Regions from separate parts of the Homo sapiens genome. Here region 2 is linked to region 1. Evidence: promoter capture Hi-C in human tissues and cell types (Jung and others, 2019). All regions are on one chromosome and are shown on one strand. Each heading gives the region's core, a stretch centred on a gene start or on the middle of the fragment in contact. The rest is flanking DNA. Distances are from core to core; before and after follow the strand shown. Region 1 holds the start of CD2 (CD2 molecule). Region 2 has its middle 41 kb from the start of CD2.

Region 1 (7,171 bases), core at 2,779-5,278:
AATGTTTGATACTCTAATTCACACTGACAAATTGCCCACCAGAAACTATACCTACTTGCAATTCTCCTGGCCATATACAAGAATGCCCATTTACACCATCATCAACACTATGTTTTCATTTTTCAAATGAAGATGAAAAATGCATCTATGTTAAAACTGACATTTCTTTATTAATAAATAGAAATAAAATTTTTCTTTTGTGGATTGCTCCTTTTATGACTTTGACCCATTTTAGTTTTAAGGTGTCTATCTTTTCTATGTTTACAAGAAAAATTTAATACTAAAAATTTAATGTTGGCCAGGCACGGTGGCCCACACCTGTCATCCCAACACTTTGGGAGGCCAAGGTGGGAGGATCACTTGAGCCCAGGAGTTCAAGATGAGCCTGGGCAACATAGTGAGACCCCCCGTCTCTACAAAAAATAAAAAAATTAGCCAGGCATGGTGCCACATGTCTGTAGTCCCAGCTACTCAGGAGGCTGAAGCAGGAGGATCACTTGAGCTCAGGAGGTCAAGGCTGCAGTATGCTGTGGTGCTGTGGTCATACCACTGCACTCCATCTTGAGCAACAGAGCAAGACCCTGTCTCTAAAATTAAAAAAAAATTGTTATGCCTTTGTCATGTATCTTGCAAGTAATTTGCTCCTTTTAGTACGTTGTCTTTAATTTTTTTATGGCTTTTTACATAGAAAGTTTTCACATTTTACAGAGTCAAATCTACTGACCTCTTTCTTTTTCATTGTTTCTGCCCTTGAAGCCATGCTCATCACTCAGAATTGAATTAGTTTTAGAGGAGCAAAATTAATGTTTCAAATAGAGGAACAGAAAGCTGCTCTTCACATGCTCCATGAGGAAAGTGTGAGGAAGAGAGGACAAGCGCCCTCCAAAGCTGAGATGGGTCAGAGGATGGCTGGCGCCACCTTCTCTCCACCAGGCCTTGACACACTGGAGTTGGATGGCAGCTGGTGGGTCAGCCACTCACAAACAGGAAGCTCCATGCTGCTCCTCTGGGTTGGCGATACTTTTGAAAAAATACGTGTGCCCTAAGCATCCTTTCTTAAAAAGACATTTTTTATTAACAAAAAAGGTGCTTATTTCCAAAATTTTAAACTTCACAGAAATAAATAAAATGTGAAAGAAACATAAAATCCTGGGACCCCAATTCATTATGCCAAAAGGAAAAATTAAGCTGAAAGTTGAGTCACACAAGAAACTGCCTTTCCTTGAGTTCCTAAGCAGAGAGTTACAGATAAAAAGCTGCTGTCTCCACGGGTAGCTACTCTATGTTCACCTTATCTTAAGAAAGTGCCAATTTACTGAGCATGAGAAGAATACAAATTGACCATTCCCCTACCTACTTTTTTTCTCTTGCAACATATGGATTCAGTAATGTGACTGTACCCTCCCTCCTTCCCCTCTGGCCAGCTTTTCCCCTTAACTGAAGGTTTTGAAATAATCTTGAGAAAAAGGCACAAACCACAGATTTTTCCTGTGGTTCTGTGTTCCTTTTTGTCCCTAATGTTGATGAAATAAACTTCTAAATTGATTGAGATCTGTCTCAAATTCTTTTTGGTTTACAAAGGTAAGAAGTGAAAATTTCATTTCAGTTCTCTCACAATCTAATACCTGAAAGACAAGCACTGTAAAAAAATTCAGCATCAACCCTTTCAGGCTTTTTTCCAACACATACCTTAATAACAACATAGTATGCTATGGTATACTGGTATACCCATAGCATAGTATAAACATAGTATCATATATAAAAAGGACTAATCCTATAGATATTGTTTTGCAATGTGCTCTTTTCATGTGATTTACCAAAAGCATCTTTCCATGTCTTACTTTTAGGCCTATGTTATACTATTTTGATGGTTATACAATATTTCATAATATGGATATACCATAATTTTAGTTGTTTGCAATTTTTTATTACAAAAATGCTACAACAAACGTCCTTGAACAGAATTTTAAAACATCTGTGCAATCATTTCTGTGGGATAGATTTCTCAAATTAAAATCACTAGGTGAGAAAAAGACATAAATTTTAAAGTTTGGTGGAAATGATAAATTCCTTTCCCCAGAAGGTATTGATTTACATTCCCTCTGATGTTGTATGAGGGTTCATTTCTCCACACACTCATGTTAATAATGTAAATTATCATCTTTTCTAATTTTACCAATCTGATGGTGAAAAATGGTATTTTATAGCTAAGATATATACATATATTTTTGGTCACATTAGACTCCTCTTGTAGGTTTGATATTTCTTCTGCGAAATATTTCTTCTGCAAGCTGATCATTTATATCATTTGCCCATTTTAAAAACTACTTTGTATTGATTGGTAAGAATTATTGGTAAGAATATTTTGAATATTAATAATTTTATATATATTGCAAATATTTTGTCACGCCTTTTCATTTTGTTCCTTATTTCTTCATCTGCATGTAAATCTTACTTCTTTATATCATCAGTTGTGTTCATCTTTTCTTTCTTACTTTGGATTATATGTTATATGTAGCCAGGCCTTCCATACTCAAACTATAGGAATATCTTTCTATATTGTCCTTTTAGCATTATTGTTATTATTTTATTTATTTAGTTATTTATTTTGAGACAGAGTCTCACTCTGCTCCCCAGGCTGGAGTGCAGTGGCACAATCCTGGCTCACTGCAACCTCCGCTTCCCAGATTCAAGCAATTTGCCTGCCTCAGCCTCCTGAGTAGCTGGGATTACAGGCGCACATCACCACACCTGGCTAATTTTTGTATTTTTAGTAGAGATGGGTTTCACCATGTTGGCCAGGCTGGTCTTGAACTCCTGACCTCAGGTGAGGAGGTCCGCCTCGACCTCCCAGAGTGCTGGGATTATAGCTGTGATCCACCACCCCCGGCCTCCTTTTAGCATTATTATAGTATTTTTGCATTTAAAACTTTAATCCAACTGTAGTTCATTATTGTGGATGACGCTCATACAACCATGAGGTAAATATTTGGCTTTCTTTTACCCAGTAACAGCAAACAACTGCTTTGACTTAATTTCATTTCCTTGGCAACTTTCTGACAGATAATATCCATATTTGTACTTAAAGTTGAAAAAGAAAACGAGCACCACTTTTGCAATTTTTACTCACTGTGACCTAAAGAATTATAACCCTGAAAATGTGCTTTGGAAGTCTGTCATGGTTATTTCTCTTTTTAGGCATCTTTTCAGGGCACACCCGTCTCTGCATCACTGTCTGTTTCCTTGTGTCACAAATTTCTGTTCTTTTTTTCTCTCCCTGTTCCCTCTCATTTATTTTTTCTCCTAATCTCTCCTTTTTCTTAACCACCTATAATGTTAATCACTTTAAATGCTTTTGACTCCTTTGTTTTGGTAGTTTAATTATATTTCATAGTCTCTATGCTTCTTTGTTTTGGAATAAGTTTTTATTTATCTAACTGTGAATTTCACTAGAGTTGTAAAATGTATGCCGAACATAGGATTTGGGGATTGCAAGCATTTACAGCTGATATTCAATTTCTTTCTTTTCACCACAAAAACGATTTTAGAACATGAAAAATATCTTTGGAGAAACAAAAAAATCAATTTCCTCATCATTTTATGGGTCTACATTTTTCAATATAATCATATGGGATAAATGTTTGCATTCTGCTATTGGCTTGTGAACATTTACCTATATTTCTATGTGGTCTTGTTAGGGACAGTATACCTAAGTGGATAAAAGGCTGTGTGGTTGAATTTGGCTTCTTGTTTACAAAAGAGTGATCCTTAGTGATCTACTTAGCCTCTCTGTTCCTTTTCTCTTTCACTGAGATGAGAAAACCTATCCTTCCCAATTTTTTTGTGTGAGAATTAAAATGCAGCAAGAAAACACACACTCATAAACACATCTGCTTTGGCAAAGGAGCACATCAGAAGGGCTGGCTTGTGCGCGCTCTTGCTCTCTGTGTATGTGTATTATGTTTTATGTTACTGTAAAAGATGTAAAGAGAGGCACGTGGTTAAGCTCTCGGGGTGTGGACTCCACCAGTCTCACTTCAGTTCCTTTTGCATGAAGAGCTCAGAATCAAAAGAGGAAACCAACCCCTAAGATGAGCTTTCCATGTAAATTTGTAGCCAGCTTCCTTCTGATTTTCAATGTTTCTTCCAAAGGTAAGCATAAGAGTCAAAGAAGTCCCAACCCAGCTTTCCCTGAAAGTGACTCTCAGTAACTCTTTTGCTTTTTATAGGTGCAGTCTCCAAAGAGATTACGAATGCCTTGGAAACCTGGGGTGCCTTGGGTCAGGACATCAACTTGGACATTCCTAGTTTTCAAATGAGTGATGATATTGACGATATAAAATGGGAAAAAACTTCAGACAAGAAAAAGATTGCACAATTCAGAAAAGAGAAAGAGACTTTCAAGGAAAAAGATACATATAAGCTATTTAAAAATGGAACTCTGAAAATTAAGCATCTGAAGACCGATGATCAGGATATCTACAAGGTATCAATATATGATACAAAAGGAAAAAATGTGTTGGAAAAAATATTTGATTTGAAGATTCAAGGTAAGTGTTCATTCCCTTAATTGCTTTATTTCAGTGTGGGTGCTATTTGGCAAGTTGGAAAATAGCATTTCTAATATTCCCCAGCGCTGACCTCTGCCTCCAGGGGGGCTATACAGGAAACCAGATGCATGTCTCCTGCCCCAGTGGAGACTGTGGTCCAATGCGGGAATGGGATCCACACATCTGATAGACCCTCAAGTCTACCTGCCTACAACTCTGTCTTCAGGTGGTTACAGGAATGTGGGGTTGGGTGAAGAACCTGGATTAAGGTGGCATTAATCGGGAGGGGGACACAGGTAGGCCGAGGGAAAAGGCAACTGTTCCAGGTTGCTGATGAATCGGCGAGCTAAGAGTGGGGCGAGAAGAAGAGGCTGACTGGAGAGCAGCGGGCCTTTCATCGACAGAGCCCATTTCAAGCCAGGCTGCCCTGAAGGAGGAGTTATATGGCAGAAAAGGGCTGGAAACAACATATTTAAGGATGAACAGCCCTTATTTTGGATCTGCTTGTCAGAGTGATACAAGGTGGCAGGTGATTTTTGCTGATATGTGTAGAAGATGCACAAGGTGTGGCTTTGTATATCTCTGCCTGTACTGGGAGGACAGGAGTGGATATTGAGGATGGGGTTAGGGAGACTAGTTAGAAAGCTGCTGCTGTAATCCAAGTGGAGTGAGGACCAATTAAATCAGATTTTTTTTGCATGCGGCCTGGGTATCATTAGGTTCTAAAGCTCCCTGGGGGATTCTAATGAGCTGCCAAAGTCAATCGCCACTGGCCTAGACCAAAGGGTGCCTCTAAAATAGGAAGAATGAGGATAATAAGGGTCAGGCATAGAGAAAGGTGGCTTAGGCAAGGGAGAGAAGGTAGAGAAAGTGGAATCGAAATGCCATTGAAGTTGAAAGCCCGGGGGGATGCTGGGGAAGTAGTGACAAGAAGGGAAAAGAAGAAGCTGCGCTTGACTTGGGGAGGCAGACAGGAACCCCAGCATGAGCACAGGCCAGCCATTCAGTGAGCAAATAAGCATTTCTGTGCTTCACACAGAAAATATCACCAGAAGCAGGGACCCCACCTTCTTCCTCTCTGTCTCCAGCCCCATCTTCAGCACCTGGGCCTACCAGCAATCCCAGATAGTGTCAGATTGCCCACTCCAGCAATCCCAGACACTGTCAGCTCCCCTGAAGTGACAACTTTCCACACCCTAGTCCTGCAACCTTGAGTGGAGAGCACCTTGTAGAAATGTAGTGGGGTTGAGCATGGCGCTGAAAAGGGCCTCTGATTATGGGCTCTGGAAACCACAGATCTCAGGACTCCAAACAGCACAAAACTCGAGTGTCCTGTTTTGAGTGTGAGCCCTACGCGGGGGACCATGCTGGTGTTTTCACATTTGGGTCGCATTTAGCATTGCGGCGGAAATAATGGCTACCAGTTAGGGGTCAAGTGCTTGCTTACATGATCTTATTTAAAGCGCCCAACAATACTGAGACCTAGTTGTTATTATCTCCTTGTTATATATAAGAAAACAGAGACCTAGTCAGAAGCAGCTTGTCCAAGGTCTCATTGCTTGACAGGAGCAAAGTCAGGATTCAAACTCAGAGGTCTTTTTGGCAAGAATGACGACCTTTTCTTTTTTTTTCCAAGCAGCTTCATTGAGATAATTCATCTACCATTCAATTTGTCCATATACTAAAATGGCCTTCAGTATATTCAGAGTTTTGTAACCATCACCACAATCAACATTTTCATTGCCCCAAAAAGAAACCCTTCACCCTTTAGCCGAAAGACAGTGACTTGCTTTATGTGTGTGCACGTCAATGTCATACAACATCTTGATTCAACTTGTAGTTGGTCACTATTACCAGACTTAAGGTGACCATGGCCTTGGGCAAATTCCCTATCTGCTGTGAGTCTGCTTTTCCAATGACAACTTCAAGGGATATTCAGTGAGACAAGGTGTGTACAAGTGTCCTGCAGTGCCTGGGGCACAATGCCTGTTTTCTCAGTGCTAATGCCCTCCCACATCTCTTTGTTTCTCCAAGCTTCTCTTTTTTTTTTTTTTTTTTTAATTGAGATGGCATCTTGCTCTGTTGCCCAGGCTGGAGTGCACTGGCATGATCTCAGCTCACTGCAGCCTCTGCCTCCCAGGTTCAAGCGATTCTCCTGCCTCAGCCTCCCAAGTAGCTGGGATTACAGGCATGTACCACCACGTCCGGCTAATTTTTGTATTTTTAGTAGAGACGGGGTTTCGCCATGTTGGTCAGGCTGGTCTCAAACTCCTGACCTCAGGGGATCCGCCTGCATCGGCCTCCCAAAGTGCTGGGATTACAGGTGTGAACCACGCACCCGGCCTCCAAACTTCTCAAACTCCAGTAGTTGTGCCTGCATTTCCTTCATGAGGGAGTTGCTGCTGCAGGCTGAAGAGGCAATGGAGGGCCCCTTAGAAGCAGATGCTAGTAGGGAAGGGGTTAATCCCAGCAACTCAGAATTAAGGAGTTCTCATCCATGGAAGGCCTTAGGTTGGATCAGTTCTAAGACGCTATCTTAGTGAATGTATACGGAGGTACTACTCCACAAGGGTGCCCATCACTGCATTATTCATGTTAGCGAAATACTAGAACAGTCAGCA
Region 2 (7,171 bases), core at 1,927-4,426, 41 kb after region 1:
TCAGGACCAGGTCCAAGGAGAGCCCACTGGTGTGATTTCTGAGAGATTAGTAAATCCTGCTGCCCCCTAAGTGGCTCCATACCACTGGCTGATAACTGAAATTCCACTATTTATTTATTTATTATTATTATTATTATTTTTAGATGGAGTCTCGCTCTGCCACCCAGTCTGGAGTGCAGTGGCGCGATCTCGGCTCACTGTAACCTCTGCCTCCTGGGTTCAAGTGATTTTCCTGCCTCAGCCTCCTGAGTAGCTGGCATTATAGGCGCACACCACCACATCTGGCTAATTTTTGTATTTTTAGTAGAGATGGGGTTTCACCGTGTTAGCCAGGAAGGTCTCGATCTCGTGACCTCCTGAACTGCCCACCTCAGCCTCCCAAAGTGCTGGGATTACAGGCATGAGCTACTGTGCCTGGCCTGAAATTCCACTATTTTTTTTTTTTTTTTGAGACAGAGTCTTGCTCTGTCACCCAGGCTGGAGTGCAGTGGCGCGATCTTGACTCACTGCAAGCTCCGCTTCCCAGGTTCACGCCATTCTCCTGCCTCAGCCTCCCGAGTAGCTGGGACTACAGGTGCCCGCCACAACACCAGGCTAATTTTTTTTTTTTTTTTTGTATTTTTAGTAGAGATGGGGTTTCACCGTGTTAGCAAGGATGGTCTCGATATCCTGACCTCATGATCCGCCTGCCTCGGCCTCCCAAAGTGCTGAGGCGTGAGCCACCGCGCCCAGCCGAAATGCCACTATTAAAGCTTCATGTTGCGTTGGATGCCGTGGCTCATGCCTGTAATCCCAGCACTTTGGGAGACTGAGGAGGGCAGATCACTTGAGTCCAGGAGTTCAAGACCAGCCTGGGCAACATGGTGAAACCCCATCTCTACTAAAAATGCAAAAATATTAGACGGGCGTAGTGGCATGTACCTGTGGTCCCAGCTACTCAGGAGGCTGAGGTGGGAGGATTGCTTGAGCCAAGGAGGCAGAGGTTGCAGTGAGCCATGATTATACCACCACACTCCGGCCTGAGTAACAGAGCCAGACCCTGTCACGAACAAACAAACAAACAAACAAAAACATTATGTTTTTCAGCATGAAGCAGTGATGAGCAACTTGAGGACTGAGATCTACATGGAAGAACCACCAGACTGGTGAATGATTTTCAGGATGAATGTCCAGATACTAACTTGTTAGTGACTAAAAAGCCATGACAGTTTCCTCATTGACATTTCTTTTATTCAGTAAAGCAAGTATTCCAAGTCTTGAGAATCTATGTTGTTTTCCTTGCATTTTCATTTCATGGAAAATAAATGGTATGCAAAGAAGGCTGCTCACCTCTGGTTTAAGAGTTTGAATACTGTTAAAATGCAAATCATCACAGAAGAGTGCAGCTTAAAAACAACAACAACAACAACTTTATTTTTTAGAGCAGTTTTAGGTTCACAGCAAAATTGAGAGGAAGATACAGAGATTTCCTATGTACCCACTTCCTTCATAAAGTCATAGCCTCCTGAATTATCCACATCCCCCACCAGAGTGGTACATTCGTTACAATGATGAACCCACACTGACACATCATTGTCATCCAAAGTTTACATTAGGGTTCACTCTTTATGTGCATTCTGTGGGTTTGGACAAATACATAATGAGATGTATCCACTATTAGACCATACAGAGTAGTTTCACTGCCCTGAAAATCCTCTGTGCTCTGCCTGTTCATCCCTCCTTCCCCCTAACCTCAGGTAACCACTGATCTTTTCGACTTCTCCATAGTTTAGCCTTTTCCAGAATGTCATATGGTATGTAACTTTTTCATATTAGCTTCTTTTGCTTAGTAATACGGATTTAATATTTCTCCATGTCTTTTCATGGTGCGGTGGCTCATTTGTTTTTAACATTGAATAATATTCCATTGTCTGGATGTTACTATAGTTTATTTATCCATTTGTAACCAAATAGCTTAACTTCAAAATGCATTTTTTTTAAATGTCCCCTTTCTCTTTTCTCCCTAGTCTTTAAATACAACCTTGAAGCAAACTGCAGAAGCCTTTTCCTGTAAGCTTAAGGTAGACTCTATGTCCCACCCTTTCCCACCATATACTCCTTTTGCATTTATCTAACTGTATGCTAGTATCTAAATATGTTCTTACTTAGAAGTTCCAGGGGCTAATCTTTTTTTTATGGAATACACAGGGATTTAATATAGTATGATCTAAAAATTATCAAAAGCTGCCTTCCAAGGGCTAATCTTGAGACAGAAAGACCAAGCCTGGAGACCCAGCTGCAAAATTCCAGAGATTACCTCAAGGCAGCTAGTCAACAACCCGGCCATTGTTCCAGGTGGACTGAGACCCAAGATAGCAACCAAACAAGACACATGGATCTTGTACTCAGCACAACTCCTGCATGCTTCACATGTCAAGTTCCTCTTATTTTTTTTTTTTTTTTTTTTACAGAATTTGTTCTGTCGCCAGGCTGGAGTGCAGTGGCGTGATGTTGGTTCACTGCAGCCTCCACCTCCTGGGTTCAAGTGATTCTCCTGCCTCAGCCTCCCGAGTAGCTGGGGTTACAAGCAAGCGCCACCACACCCAGCTAATTTTTTTATTTTTAGTAGAGAGGGGTTTCATCATGTTGGCCAGGATGGTCTTGATTTCTTGACCTTGTGATCTGCCCTCCTCGGCCTCCCAAAGTGCTGGGACTACAGGCATGAGCCTCTATGCCTGGCCAAGTTCCCTTTTTTAAACTCTTGTTTTCTCCCCAGAAATTTAAAGTGATTACTTTGGATGGGGATCTGGTCACTTTCACTTCTGCTTTACTAGTTTTGGTTAATAAAGTCACTTTCTTTCTACCATATCTCACTCTTGTCATTGGACCTTGCAAGTGGCAAAGCAGCCAGACCCGTGCTCGGTTACACATTCACCTACTGAAGGATATCTTGGTTGCTTTTAAGAATTGGTTATTATGAATAAAGCTGAGTGCAGCCCTTTTTGTATGGAAGGAAGAGCATTTTGGCAAGGGTGCTGAAGGCATAGAAATGGTAGAAAGGGGCAGGAGATTAATGTGGGGAAGGGAGTTGGGGCAACCCACCCCGTACACAGCTCTGCCTGTGGCCAGCCCTGCTCAGAATATACTGGGCCTTAGAGCCCCATAGCAGAGGAAATGAGGCTGTGGCATGCAGGGCAGCTGGCCTGGTGCCCTCCTAAGTAGCTGTCAATCCCATGGAGCCCTCCACTAGTAGCCTCCAAGAGCTGCCTAGATGTTAGAAGAGAAATCTGTCCTTTTTAAAGCCAGAAAGTCCCCCCTTCCAGAGAAGGGACTCTTTCCTCAACCTGGAGCTCAGAGGAGAATCTGTGCTGGAAAGGCTAACGGAGTCTTGATCAGTGGGAGCACTCCTTGGGGGAGCACTCCTCAGGGGAAACACTTCTCAGGGGGACCTCTCCTCAGAGGGAATACCCTTCAGGGAAGCACTTCTCAGGGGCACTTCTCAGGGGAGCACTCCTCAGCGGGAGCACATCTCAGGGGAACTCTCCTCAGAGGGAACACTCTTAGGGGTAACTCTCCTCAAGGGAAACACTCCTCAGGGGAGCACTCCTCAGGGGGAGCATTCCTCAGGGGGGAACACTCCTTAGGAGGAGCACTCCTTGAGATTACCGCAAGGCAGCTAGTCAACAACCCGTCCATTGTTCCAGGTGGACTGAGACCCAAGATAGCCACCGAAACAAGACACATGGATGTTGTACTCAGCACAGCTCCTGCATGCTTCACACGTCAAGTTCTTCTTCTTTTTTTTTTTTCTTTTTTTTTCTTTTTTGACAGAGTCTCTCCTCAGAGGGAGCACTCCTCAGGAGTAATTCTCCTCAGGGGTAACTTCTCTTAAGGGGAAGTCTTCACAGGGACCATTCCTCAAAGGGAGCTTTCTTTCCTCTATGTGCTTTCCACCTGGCAGGGTCTCAGAGCCATATGTGCTCCCACTTCCTTACAGGGCAGGATCAGATACCACCATTTACACCCTCACTGAAAAGGCAGTCACACACACTCATACTGTAAGGGAGGAAAAATATCTTTTTCTTGACCCAACTTAGATTCATGGCTGAGGCCCCTGTAACAAAAAACAGATTAAAAAAAAAGAAAGGTCAAAAACAATGTATTTAACATAAATTTTACATGACACAGGAGCCCTCATCAGGAAATGAGGAAACAGGTAAGCCTGAATATTTTCATGCTAGGTTTGATGAAGCACGGACAATCGTGGAGAAATATGAGAGGAGGACAAAAGGGAACTATTAATGGTGACAAAACTGGGGAAAACTTAGCAAGCCTTGTTGTTCAGATTCCCCTCCATGTCCCTGTGTCTCCAGGGACAAGGATGCTCCTTTCCCCTGGGTGTAGGGAGGGAACCGTTCACCTCTCATGTGAAGGTTTTATGACCTGCTTCAGGGGAAGGTGAGAAAATCCTTCCTACGTTTTATGGAGAAGATTGGGGAAGGTTAGAGAGACTTTCCTGCACATGCTGTTTTCTCAAATTCCTTCAGCTTAGAATATTTTGGACTAGCATGTCCTGAGCCCCATCAACACTGATGCTTTCCCTTGCTAGGCCATGTGAACCTTATGAAAAAAAAATCTAGTGGCTTCTAGGAATTTCAGCAAGTATGTAAAGAAAATGCCAAGGACAGTCAGAGAACCCGTCTCTTTGCACCCCAAATCGTACTATGCTTGTGGCTGGTCCTGGAGTGCAACCTGGAGCTCTGAGAAGGGCTGGGAATTAATAATAAGCCATCTCTTCTGTGTGCTGCCCTGAGATGTGGGAGCACCTGGCTTGGACCCCTGCACAATGCAATTATTGTACCTTCAGCCCAGGGATCTGAGCCCCCTGAGCTGGCAGGAGCTCTCAGAACATCCACCGTGAGGCAGGCATGTGCTATGTGATGTCAGCACTGGTGCTGCCATGAAACAAGCTCATGGAAACAAGTTGGGCAGAAAGGTTTTGAAAAGTCAGGAACATCTTGTTGAATAACAAAAAACGAGTACGATGTAAGAACTTGTTTTTAGTGGAAAATGACTCTTCACATGACTTCTGTATGTTCACCTCTCTACCAGTCGGTTAACTGGCAGGAAGCAGGATGTCACTCAGATGGCTCAACTAGAGACTTCAATAGAGGGACCACTTAGGAAGTGTAGGCAAGGTCAAGGAAGCCAATAGGGATGTTGAGGCACCTAGAGGCTAGGAACTGCAGGAAGCTGTTGCTCTCCTAGACCAGAAGGGACAAGGGGTCCAATGAGAGCTGCAGCTGTAGAGAAGGGGTCCCCTGGAGAGAGCAGCAGCCATGGAAAAACAGCTGCAGTCAAGATAGAGCACAAGAGCAGGAAAGGGTGTGGGAAAACTCCAACTTCTCTTTCCTCCTTGTTGGCGCCTCCCATTGGCCAACCCAACTGGAAGTCAGGTGGTCAGGGAGTGCAGGTGTTTCAGCCCATAGGGGTCAACTTCCTGAGGCACAGAAAGTCAGAGAAGGCTGGTGAATGGACTCCAGTGTAGGGGGCCAGGTGGAGACTTAACTGGTATTGTTATGTTGGGTGTGTACATTCTCTAGATACAGTACGGTTATAAAATCCATTCCAGATGCGAGTCCCCTGCATTTCCATTCCATGTGTCCTCCGCCTCCCCCACTTCACTGTACTTACTAGGATCCATCCTGATCTTCATGAATCATGAAGACTACCTTGGATCTGCTACATATATGAGTCAGACTATTGGCTCTTTGAGAAACTCATTTGCTTTCTGTCCCATAGACATTGGTCAGTAAATGTATAATGGCGGAAGGGCTGCAATGGGATTAGAGAGAGTTAGTGTTCATCTTTCACTAAGATCTGCTTCCACTCCCAGCTGGCTTCCAGGGAATAAAGCCTCCTCACAGAACACACAGAGGTGGTGCAGAGAAAGCCCTAGGACCACACGAATACCACCAGACCTTGAAATGTGGGAAAAGAGGGCTGTAGGAGGCAATTCTGAATTTTTGTTGGCATGAATGAGCACATAAAATCACTTAGAGTGTTCAGGAAATTTTTCAGCCCTCTTCATTAGCTATCTTGCCTCCTTCCCCCTCAACTTTATTTTTTGTTTGTTTACTTCTTCTTTCAGGGGACCAGAAAAATCTAAGATGTGCTATTTATTTACTCATTCATTCATCCATACATTCCTTCAGTCATTTTTTACTGCAAATATCTATGGTGCCAGGCACTGTGTTAGGCACTGGCTTTAGAAGGGTGAAAATTATGAGGCTGGGCATGGTGGCTCATGCCTGTAATTCCAGCACATTCAGAGGCCTAGGGGGGTGGATCAACTGAGATCAGGAGTTCAAGACCAGCCTGTCCAGCATGGCGAAACCCCGTCTCTATTAAAAATACAAAAATTAACCAGGTGCAGTGGCATGCACCTGTAGTCCCAGCTACTTGGGAGGCTGAGGCAGGAGAATTGCTTGAACCAAGGAGGCAGAGGTTGCAGTGAGCTGAGACCAAGCCACTGCACTCCAGCCTGGGTGACAGAGCAAGACTCCGTCTCAAAAAAAAAAAATAAATAAATAAAAAAAAATAAAAACAGAAGGATGAAAATTAGGCTAGCTGGCCTTGAAAACTCACCATTCATTTAAGGTGTACACACACATTGATTTCCCAAGTCTTATCAGCCTTGGGGGTAAACAAGGGCATGAGTGACAAGTGCAATGGTATTTAACTCTGAACACCCACAAGCAGTTGTTAAACTCCAAGCCCCACTGAGAGTCCTAGAGGCAAACACTCCCAAAAGCTGCAGAGGTTTTCCCACATCATTACCATCATGTGCCAGACAGCCCTGCTGCTGCTGTTGCCTGAGCAGGAAAACCAGGGACAGTGTCTCTGCATTGGGAGCCTTGGGTGGGCTTATGAAGCAGTTTCTGTTGAATCTCCTGCATCCAGTGCGATTTCCACATTCTCAGAGAAAGCCCTGTGGCCCTAGAATCTCCTTTCATCTAGGCTGTCACTCTTTTTCAGTGTCTCAAAGAAAGCACCTACAATTTATTGAATCATTTAGTTATTTTACCTAGAGCAATTTCAGTCAAAATATATATGATATGAGACCTTTTCCTGTTTTGCAAAAATATTAGAGCATAGGAAAGTGCTGACTGGGGAAGATGGGGAGGGGAGA

What was found. The method cuts DNA at HindIII sites, captures the fragments that hold promoters and counts their contacts. A contact is called where the count stands out against the background at its distance.
Region 2: a contact is called between a fragment that was not itself captured here and the fragment with the promoter of CD2 in region 1, in 3 of the 25 tissues and cell types used here (bladder, lymphoblastoid cells and thymus).

The regions. Positions count from the first base shown.
Region 1 is chr1:116,750,402-116,757,572 of GRCh38, forward strand. CD2 (CD2 molecule) reads left to right here and starts at 4,029. Exons shown (of 5, transcript NM_001767.5): 1 at 4,029-4,152; 2 at 4,230-4,550. The coding sequence starts at 4,092. RefSeq lists promoters at 1,549-4,146, 3,704-4,146, cis regulatory regions at 1,779-2,278, 2,616-2,645 and a silencer at 2,279-2,782. The HindIII fragment of the contact is 12,515 bases long and covers 1-7,171 here.
Region 2 is chr1:116,792,164-116,799,334 of GRCh38, forward strand. No RefSeq gene overlaps it. Among named protein-coding and RNA genes, the nearest start is that of CD2, 41 kb to the left of the region's middle. The HindIII fragment of the contact is 8,196 bases long and covers 1-7,171 here.